Linked DNA regions of Homo sapiens: all the other regions are linked to region 1. Evidence: promoter capture Hi-C in human tissues and cell types (Jung and others, 2019). All regions are on one chromosome and are shown on one strand. The core of a region is centred on a gene start or on the middle of the fragment in contact, and the rest is flanking DNA. Distances in the headings are between cores, read along the strand shown. Region 1 holds the start of C9orf152 (chromosome 9 open reading frame 152). Region 2 has its middle 36 kb from the start of MUSK. Region 3 overlaps PALM2AKAP2 (PALM2 and AKAP2 fusion).

Region 1 (3,137 bases), core at 222-2,721:
GAGCCATTGTGGCCAGCCTACTGCCATGATGTCTACTGCCATGATTTCATGGCAGGTGCAGCTGGTCCAGCATGGATGGGTTGCTCTTGCCTTCATGATAGAGTGATCTACCGATAAAAAGGTATGAGGAAGCTTTGGCTATCTCTCTCGGTATTTTTTTGAGACAGATTGAGCTCTAATCCAATGTGATTGCTGTACTTATAAAAAGGGGAAAATTGGGCACAGAGACACCCACATAGGAAGAACATCATATTAGGCCGGGTGTGGTGGCTCACGCCTGTAATCCCAGCACTTTGGGAGGCCAAGGCGGGCGGATCACAAGGTCAGGAGATCGAGACCACGGTGAAACCCTGTCTCTACGAAAAATACAAAAAATTAGCTGGGCGCGGTGGCGGGTGCCTGTAGTCCCAGCTACTCGGGAGGCTGAGGCAGGAGAATGATGCGAACCCGGGAGGCAGAGCTTGCAGTGAGCTGAGATTACGCCACTGCACTCCAGCCTGGGCGACAGAGTGAGACTCCCTCTCAAAAAAAAAATAAAATAAAAAAATAAAAAGGAAGAACATCATGTCAAGATAAAGGCAGAGATTAGGCAATGTTTTTGCAAGCCAAAGAATACCAGAGATTGCTAGCAAACCATCAGAAGCAAGGTGAGAGGCATGGAACAGATACTCTCACACAGCTCCAAGAAGAAACCAACCCTGCTCACACCTTGACTTTGGACTTCTAACCTCCAGAACTCTGAGACAATAATGTTTGTTGTTTAAGACATCCAGTTTGTGGGATTTCGTTATGGCAGCCCTAGCAAAACTAACATATACTACCCAGTGAAGATTTGCTCTCCATCTTCCACGGCTCCCCCACATCAAATGACTAGATCTTGTCTGGTTAATGTCCAAAATGTCTTGTAGGTTCAGGCTCTACTCTGTTTCCATTGCCTCTGTAGACATATTGGGTAATTGGGTAATCAGTAAGCACCGTGATAGGAGAAGATAGAAAGGGACTTAGTTGACCAAATGCAGCAAGGCTAGGTCAAAGCTGGTGTAAGAGGGAGAGGGTCTGGGATTCAAAAGCAATGTGGAAATGTTGAGGCTGGCAAGCAGAGAGTGAGGGGATGCCTAACTTACCACTTGGTTGGAGAATGCTGAGACGGCAGAGGCTGCACCAAATGTCCAAGGGGTAGGGCTGGCCCGAGGCCAAGATTCCCCTGGGCTCTGTCCCATGGCTGACTTTAGGGCTGAATTTTCACCTGGGGTGTGTGTTGGGGTCTGAGTGGAGATCTTGGGGAGATCTTTGCTACTGGGTTTCTTTAGGGTGTGGCCGCGGGGCACACATCCAGAGGCACCGACCTTGTGAAGCTCCCGAGGGTGTTCTTTGAACTACTGCAAACCCAACCGGCAGGTTTGCTGAAAAGTGGCCACGTTCCAGTCCAAAATGTGTGAGCAGAGCGCGAGCTTAGCACTCCCCAGCCCCAGTCCCAGCTCTGCCAGGAAAGGGGAGACTTCACCGTGGCACTGGGAATTGGATTCTAAACTTTAGGATCAAGCAATGGAAGGACCTGGAATAAGACACCTTCTTGACCCCCCTGAAGGGCTCTGAGCAGCTGGGCTTGCCTTTCTCTTTGCTCCCCCAGTCCTCCCCTTACTTCTCGGTCTCCCACTCCCCATCACTCCTTTCCCTGCCTCCTCCTGCCTGTCTCCATCTTCCTCCCTCTCTTTCTTCTCTCGCCCCATTAATCCCCGCTTGTCACTATCACCTCCTTCCTCCAGTCTTTCCCCCTTCGCTGCCCCTTCTTTCCTCTGACATTTCCTTCTCCTCTTACTGCCACTGTCTCCCACCTTTCTCCTCCCCCACATTTCTCCCTATCCCTACCTCCTCTTCCCCTTCATCTTTCTCCTTCCCCCTTATTTTTCTATCTCCTTCCTCAGTCCCACTCCTCTTTCCACCCTCCTTTTGCCCGTCACTTCTCCTTCTCCCTCACTGCCCCCTCCCTCTCTCTCCCCTCCCCAGGTCCTGCCCCACCCAGCTGTGTTTGCTTTTCTCCCGGATCCGGATGGAGGGGTTGCCCTGCCCGTGCCCAGCCCTGCCCCACTTCTGGCAGCTTAGGTCTCACTTAATGGCTGAGGGCTCCAGGACTCAGGCCCCTGGGAAAGGGCCCCCACTCAGCATCCAGTTCCTGCGAGCCCAGTATGAAGGCTTGAAGAGGCAGCAGAGGACCCAGGCCCACCTCCTGGTGCTTCCAAAAGGTAGGAATGGACAGGTGCTGGGGAAGGAGAGACTTACCATGGGAGACCTGAGTGGCAGAGCTGCAGGGAGGCAGAGCCAGGGCTTTGCCAGCCCTCCCTCCCAGTGGGGAAGAGCAGGGGAGGCGGGCTCAGGGCAGCTCTGCTCAGCTGTCCCACCTGCTAAGGGAGCCAGGGGCCTCAGCCAAGCACCTGGCTGCCAGCACTGTTCCTGGCCTCTGCTCTGATGTTCTAATCTTGCTAGACTGGTCAGCCTGGTGAGCCAGGCTTGGCCCCCCTGCTAGCCCAGGTATGGCGATAGGAGCTCTGCTTCCTGGCTGGGTCTAACTAAGGCACCTCCTACAAACCAGAGAAATTCACTCTGGAGGTAGAAGACATGGCGTTCCCAACAGCCTGGGAACTGTCTGGGCCAGAGGACGCCTAGGGCTCAGAGACCCATGAGGCATCCCAGGCTCATCCAGCCTCAAACATCAGGCAGGGAGGTGTGATTGGACACAGAAACCCCCTCATGGGGAGAAACCTCCTCCCTTTAGGAACTCAGATTTCATTCCAGGAGGGAGTTAGAGGCACAGGGCTCAGAAAGCAAGGGCATGTCAAATCCCAGCCCTTCCTCCTCTAACAGAGGAACAGGTTGAGGGAGAAGGGAAGATACCCTGAAAGGTCAAAGCTGGGCTCTGTGGGATTCTGTGGTTATTTGTAGAGTTCAGTAGACTCTTTGGGCTGCCCTTTGCCAGGCCAGACTGGGCAGGAATCAGGGGCCAGAGGGACCTCTCTGTCTAGGGCAGGAAGTGTGCTGCCTTTTGGGAACAAAAGTGGCACCTCTGAGCTGAAGGAGCCCATCTCCCATTACCTGGGCTGTTGCCAACCAATGGAATCCTCGTTCCTGGCAGGAGTGAA
Region 2 (3,137 bases), core at 174-2,673, 430 kb before region 1:
TTCTGCAATGTTTATATATTTCAAAACATCACGTTGTACATAATAAACACATACAATTTTATCTATCAATTTCATTAAAAAGGCATTAAGATAAAGATGATCACTAGAACTTTCTAAATAGCCAAAGAAATTGTAAAGGTAAAACAGCAAAAAAAATATAGTAAAGGAAAAACTCAGCAATTATAACATAAAATGCATAATTATGACAAATAATATGTAGTTGTGAGACTAGACAATCACACTTACTAATAAACGTGAATGGACTTGACCCATATATTAATAGGAAAAGACTTCCAATTTGACTCACAAAACAAGAACCAACTATACGGACACACAAGAGACGTCTCTAAAATAAGTGACTCAAAGGATAAAAATAAAGAGATAGACAAAGGCATACCAGGCAAATGGAATCTGTCAGGGAGGCAGGTGTAGCAATTCTGACATTAGACAAAGAAAAATTCAATTTTATAAGCATTAAAGGTATAAAAATGACACTTCTTTATGTTAGAATGAACCATAATTCACTTCTTAATGCTAGAATGAACCATAATTCACAATAAAGTTATATTTATGAATATCTATGCACTAAATAACAGAATTCCCTCACTGAAGCAAAAACTACAACAATGCAAGAAGACATAAGTGGAAATACACTCATTATAACTTTAGCTCAGTATTCTCCACATAAGACAGATTAAGTTGACAAAAAATAAATAAGATAAAAGACCTAAACAACATAATAAATGGGGTAGATTTTAAGGCTATACAAAACTTTAAACTCTGTTAATGGAGAGTGCACCTACTGAAGTGTAAATGGAAGTCACAAAAATTGACTTTGAGATCATGTTACACATACAAAAAGTCAGTAACATGAACTAGAAATATTACATATTCTCTTATCACAAAGCCAAGAACTAAAAATTATTAGCAACAAATAAAGGTTCAACTGGGAATTTAAAAGCCTTACATTAAATGATTTTTGCAGAATGGGCAAAAGGGAAATACAAAAGGTTGGTGCAAAAATAATCACAGTTTTGGATTATGAATTTTAAATCATTATAACTAGGCACAAACACATATTTATTAATCAAAACAGGAACCATTACAATCAACACATTTTTGCCAACGAGAAATAAATTTGTTTATACCTATAACATAAAAATTCATGTTTCAGGATTCGATGAACTCTTGGAAAGGAATTTCTGCATCCTGCTGGTTGTGGAAGTGTTTTCCCTGCAAAAAGTTGTCAAGGTGCTTGAAAAAGGGTAGTCGGTTGGTGAGAGGTAAAGTGAATAGTGGATGAGGCAAAACTTCGAAGTGTTGGTTATGCGATAAATGGTTGGGCATTGTTGTGGAGAATTGAGCCCTTTCTGTTGACCAATGCTGGCTGCCCGTGTTTGGTGCATCTCATCGATTTGCTGAGCATACTTCTCAGATGTAATGGTTTTGCCAGCATTCAGAAAGCTGTAGTGAATCAGACCCGCAGCAGACCACCAACAGGGCCCATGACCTTTTTTTCGGTGCAAGTTTGGCTTTGGGAAGTGCTTTGGAACTTCTTTTCAGCCCATCCACTGAACTGGTCGTCACCAATTGTGATATAAAATCCATTTTTCATTGCATGTCACGATTTGATTGAAAAATGGTTCATTGTTGTGATGTAGAATGAGAAGAGTACACTTCAAAAATGAGGGTTTTTAAAAATTTTTCGCTCAGCTCATGAGGTACCCACTTACTGAGCTTTTTCACCTTTCCAATTTGCTGCAAATGCTGAGCAACCACAGAATGGTCGACGTTGAGTTCTTCAGCAACCTCTTGTGTATTGGTAAGAGGATAAGCTTCGATAATTGCTCTCAATTGGTTTTTGTCAACTTTTGATGGTTAGCCACTATGCTCCTCATCTTCAAGCCTCTTGTCTTTTTTGCAAAACGTCTTGAACCACCACTGCACTGTAGGTTTGTTAGCAGTTCCTGGGCCAAATGCATTGTTGACGTTGCGAGTTGTTTCGGCTGCTTAAACATTTTGAACTCAATTAAGAAAATCGATCAAATTTGTTTTTTGTCTGACATCATTTCCATAGTCTAAAATACATATAAAATAAACAGCAAGTAGTAAGTCATTAGCAAAAAACATAAAGTGAGAAATGTGCGTTAAAATGATGTCTAACATAATCAAATTTAAGAATGTATTCCAGTATCAAACAGCAAATTTCAACAATGCAAAAATCGCAATTACTTTTGTACCACCTAATACATTTGCAAAAAGCCTTTACAAGTAAAGTCACATTCACAGGCGCTGAAGTTTAGGACTTGAACGTATCTTTTTTTATGGACCTGGGGACAGGGTGGGAGGGACACGATTCTACCTACGCAGAAATACAGGTTACAAAAATTACCTATGAGACATACAAAGCTTAAACAGATTAATTTCCATGAAGAAATAGAAAAAGTGATAAAGACAGAACCAATAAACAATTGCCAGAAAGTTCTACCAGATTTTCATAGACCAGCCTCTATATGTTTTCCATTGCCTAAACCTGATACCTAAATCTAGTAAAGAAAGTATGAAATTAAAGATACTAATATTATTTATCAATATTGATGCAAAGTTTCTAAATAAAATATTAATAAACAGAATCAAACACATTAAGAAAACAATATGCTACAATCAAGTAGATTTTTTTCCAAGGATGCAAGATTGATTCAATATTAAGAAATTTATTCAAATAACACTTGTAATAATAAGCCTTGATTATATTCATAGATAATGAAAAAAGTCTTAGATAAAAACAAATATTTGTCTGATGAAAACACTCAAGAAAATAAGAACTGATGAATACTTTTTAAAGTATATATATTCTCCATCTCTGTATATATAAATCTACATATATGTATTAGAATATGTGTTCTAAAGAATAAAGATGTGTGTTTGTGTATGTGTATGTATATATGTATTTTAAAACCCTGTTCACAATAGCAACAAAAGTAAAATACTTAGAAATATAGTTAATAGGAAATGTGTAAAATTTATATGAGGAACACTTCAAAACACTTGTGTTTAAAACACAAAAGGAGATTTGAACAATTGGAAAAATATTCTTTGTTCTTGGAATGATTCAACATCATAAATACATCAGCTTT
Region 3 (3,137 bases), core at 462-2,961, 380 kb after region 1:
CTGTGAGTGGAGGTCAGGAACTGGAATTGGGATAAAATAGAAGAATCTGTCAGTATCCCCCTCAAAAGGAAATATTTATACTCTAGATAGTTTGGCTTCCAGTGTGTGACTTTAGAATTCGTAAGGCTCTACTGCTTCAAAATAATTGGCTTTTAAAATTTAACTGATAGCTCAAGTCACTTAAAATGAGAATCTTTTAGATTTTTCTTTTCTACTAAGAAGCAAAATAAACAAAAAAAAAGGGACTAATGCAGCAATCAGAAAGATAGAGTTCCATACTGACTTAAATAGTTGCCCCATCAGAGGAATGAATTGATTATTTTATGTACTGTAAAGTTTAGTATTTTCTACTGATGGTCAAGAAATGCTGGACATGTCAATTATCAAGAACTAAGAGGCTTGGGTGACTTTAGACTTCCTTATTCTGCTACTCTGACTGCATCTGTCACTAGTTTGGGCATGGTCCAGAAAGGAGCCCAGTGTCTAAAGGCCTGCAAACGACTCCCAGAAGATTCAGTAACCTCCCTCAGGCAACTGGCTCTGCTGAGGATGTATTCATTGTGATTTGTAAAAGTTATCTGGCTTCACTGAATAGGTATCCACACAACAGGACAGGTGGTAGCCTAGGGGTGTCAAGTGTTTGCCTATGTTATTTACCAAAAAGCACCTCAAACCATCAACATCTTTATCTCCCCTGTGCCAGAACTGTGAGAGGCTGAAAGGTGAATGAAGCACACTCTCCGGACCCTGGTGGGGAGTACTCATCAGTCAGTGTCCTAATACAAGGCAACCTTCAGCTACAGAGAGGCACACATCGCTATAAGTGGGAGGGAGAAGGGACAGCAGCCCTTACATGGGAGAATACGTGTGCCCTATTTATGCTTGTGTGTGTGTGTGTGTGTGTGTGTGTGTGTGTGTGTGTGTAGGGGAAGTATTAACAACCATCAATGGGAAAAAAGAATGCATTAGAAATCCCTACTAAAAATCTCACCTCCAATTGAACAGCTCCTACTTCAACAGAATTGGGTTTTCTCCCCAAAGATCTGGGGACTCAAAAACTTATAATCCACTCATTCTCCTGTTGCATGACCCCTAAATCTGCTGTTCCAATCAAATCTAGGGTCGCATGAAGGTTTACCTTTTGCCAATTTTAAGAGACTGCAGAGGGAAAAAATACAGACTTTGGGTTGTGTCAGGCCTGGATTCTAGTGTAGACTTCGTCAATGCTGACTGCGTGACCTTCAGTAGCACCTGGGCTTCCGCTGCGTCACTGGTAACATGGGGAGTTCTTCCTTCCACTTAGGATTGTCATGAGGATTAAACAGCACACACCATAAAGCAGACACTAAAATCAGTCATCTTCTTTCTCCTCCCTCTCCCCCAAGGCCATTCATTCTGTTATCCCAAGCCAGGCTTAGAAATATTGGCCAGGACTTTTCAGTTAAAATTAAATAAACATACTCCATTCTCCTTAAGTGAGTAGAACCACTGCTTGGGCTAATATTATTCTTTCTTTTTTCCTCAATAGGTTTTTTCTCCTCTCTCTACCTGAAGTAGGAAAGGCAGGCATGAAAAGGCTATGTTGGCAGTTGGACCTAGATCAGAGCCTAGGCCTACATGTGTTTTGTTGATCAAACATTAACACCAGCCCCTGGTTTGATGAACGGACCAGAACCTCTCCCGCCCCTGCTCTCAACCCCTAGGCACATACAAAACATGTTTACAAAGCCTGCTGACCCTATGGTCTATTTGGACAATGAATTTTGTGTCTCTCTAAGAAAGTTGCATTTGGTTCCTAGTCAATGCATAAAGTAAAAATCGTCTATAATCAAAATTACTCATGAGAATCCCTTAAAATGTTCATAAAGTATCCAACAACACTGTCTCACAAAGAGTCCATGCAGGCACATTTTTCTCCTACTAAGGACTAGGTCGTCACTTCTTTTGACCATCAGATAAAGAAAGTTTCCTTGTGTTTGGGGACCACAAGGCCTGAAAAACATACCTGCATCTTGAAAGACTAAAATCATAAACAGAGGCTAAAAGAAATTTCAGGTAATTCATGCATCTCCCACCTCATATTCTCCTGGGGCATATGGATGGAGAATTGCCCACACTATTCAAGTAGGTAATTATTTTCCTTCTCTCAACTTTGTCTGTGTTTTTTGTTTGTCTTCCTAACTGAACTCAGGTTAAATGTCAGCCTCATTAAATTCTAAATCAAGGTTATTTTGCATTGCATCTTTTCATAAAAATGAAGGATCGACTGATTTTTTAATAAGTGAACAGGGTTACCAAGCCAAGCTGGTAATCTCAGTCCCAAACCTTAATTGAAGACAATGAGAACTGCATAAGCACGCCTCAAATGACGCTCTGGCCAGGAGAGAGGATGTGTAGCCCTGATAAAGAAGAGAGAGAAAGGACAGCAGACTAGATAGAAAATTGCAAAATGGAAGACTTCTGTGTGTGCAGAAAGGAATACTTCATATTTTTTCTTCCCAGAATTTTATGGCAGATGGAGAACTTAGAAATCTGTTTTTATCCTCTATTCATAATGAGCAGGATAGTCCTAAGACACCCTGAATTACATTCACCACAAGCAACTACTATGTGCTGGGCTCTTTGCTCCAGGGTGCTGGGGAAACAAGGATGAATCAGTCACTCTCTAGTCCTTAAGGCTCTCAAAATCTAGTAGAGGAAAGCAGGAGAGGAAATAATAAATGCACTAAATGCTATGGATATAACAAGACATACTTGGATGGAATGCAAAGGATGAATTGTTGGAAGAGGTTGCCATGGGGTTTTATAGGGGAGGTGATTACACAGGGTATGTGTTTCGCTGACCCATAGAGAAGTGAGGTGAGCGTCTCAGGGAGAGACAGCCTATGCAAACAACCAAGTATAATTTAACCAAACATACAGAATTTTCACTATCTTAAAAATTATTTAAATAAGTAAACAATATTTCCTCTGTATGCCAGTTAGCAGCTATGAACAAGAGCTGGAGAAAGCAAACTCCTATGTAATCAATAACTAAAGCACTATAACATGAATCATATTTCCTCTGCCTCACCTCACATTCTGTGATAAAAGAGTCCACTGTCAAAAAACTTCTACACCCCAACATCACATCATCG

What was found. The method cuts DNA at HindIII sites, captures the fragments that hold promoters and counts their contacts. A contact is called where the count stands out against the background at its distance.
Region 2: a fragment that was not itself captured here is called in contact with the fragment with the promoter of C9orf152 in region 1 in 3 of the 25 tissues and cell types used here (dorsolateral prefrontal cortex, lymphoblastoid cells and spleen).
Region 3: a contact is called between a fragment that was not itself captured here and the fragment with the promoter of C9orf152 in region 1, in 1 of the 25 tissues and cell types used here (aorta).

Annotation. Positions count from the first base shown.
Region 1 is chr9:110,206,493-110,209,629 of GRCh38, reverse strand. C9orf152 (chromosome 9 open reading frame 152) reads left to right here and starts at 1,471. Exons shown (of 2, transcript NM_001012993.3): 1 at 1,471-2,243. The coding sequence starts at 2,051. RefSeq lists enhancers at 1,801-2,301, 2,302-2,802. The HindIII fragment of the contact is 9,571 bases long and covers 1-3,137 here.
Region 2 is chr9:110,631,641-110,634,777 of GRCh38, reverse strand. No RefSeq gene overlaps it. Among named protein-coding and RNA genes, the nearest start is that of MUSK, 36 kb to the left of the region's middle. The HindIII fragment of the contact is 6,286 bases long and covers 1-3,137 here.
Region 3 is chr9:109,828,930-109,832,066 of GRCh38, reverse strand. The region is part of intron 1 of PALM2AKAP2 (PALM2 and AKAP2 fusion); the gene reads right to left. Among named protein-coding and RNA genes, the nearest start is that of PALM2AKAP2, 50 kb to the right of the region's middle. RefSeq lists an enhancer at 1,519-1,688. The HindIII fragment of the contact is 7,612 bases long and covers 1-3,137 here.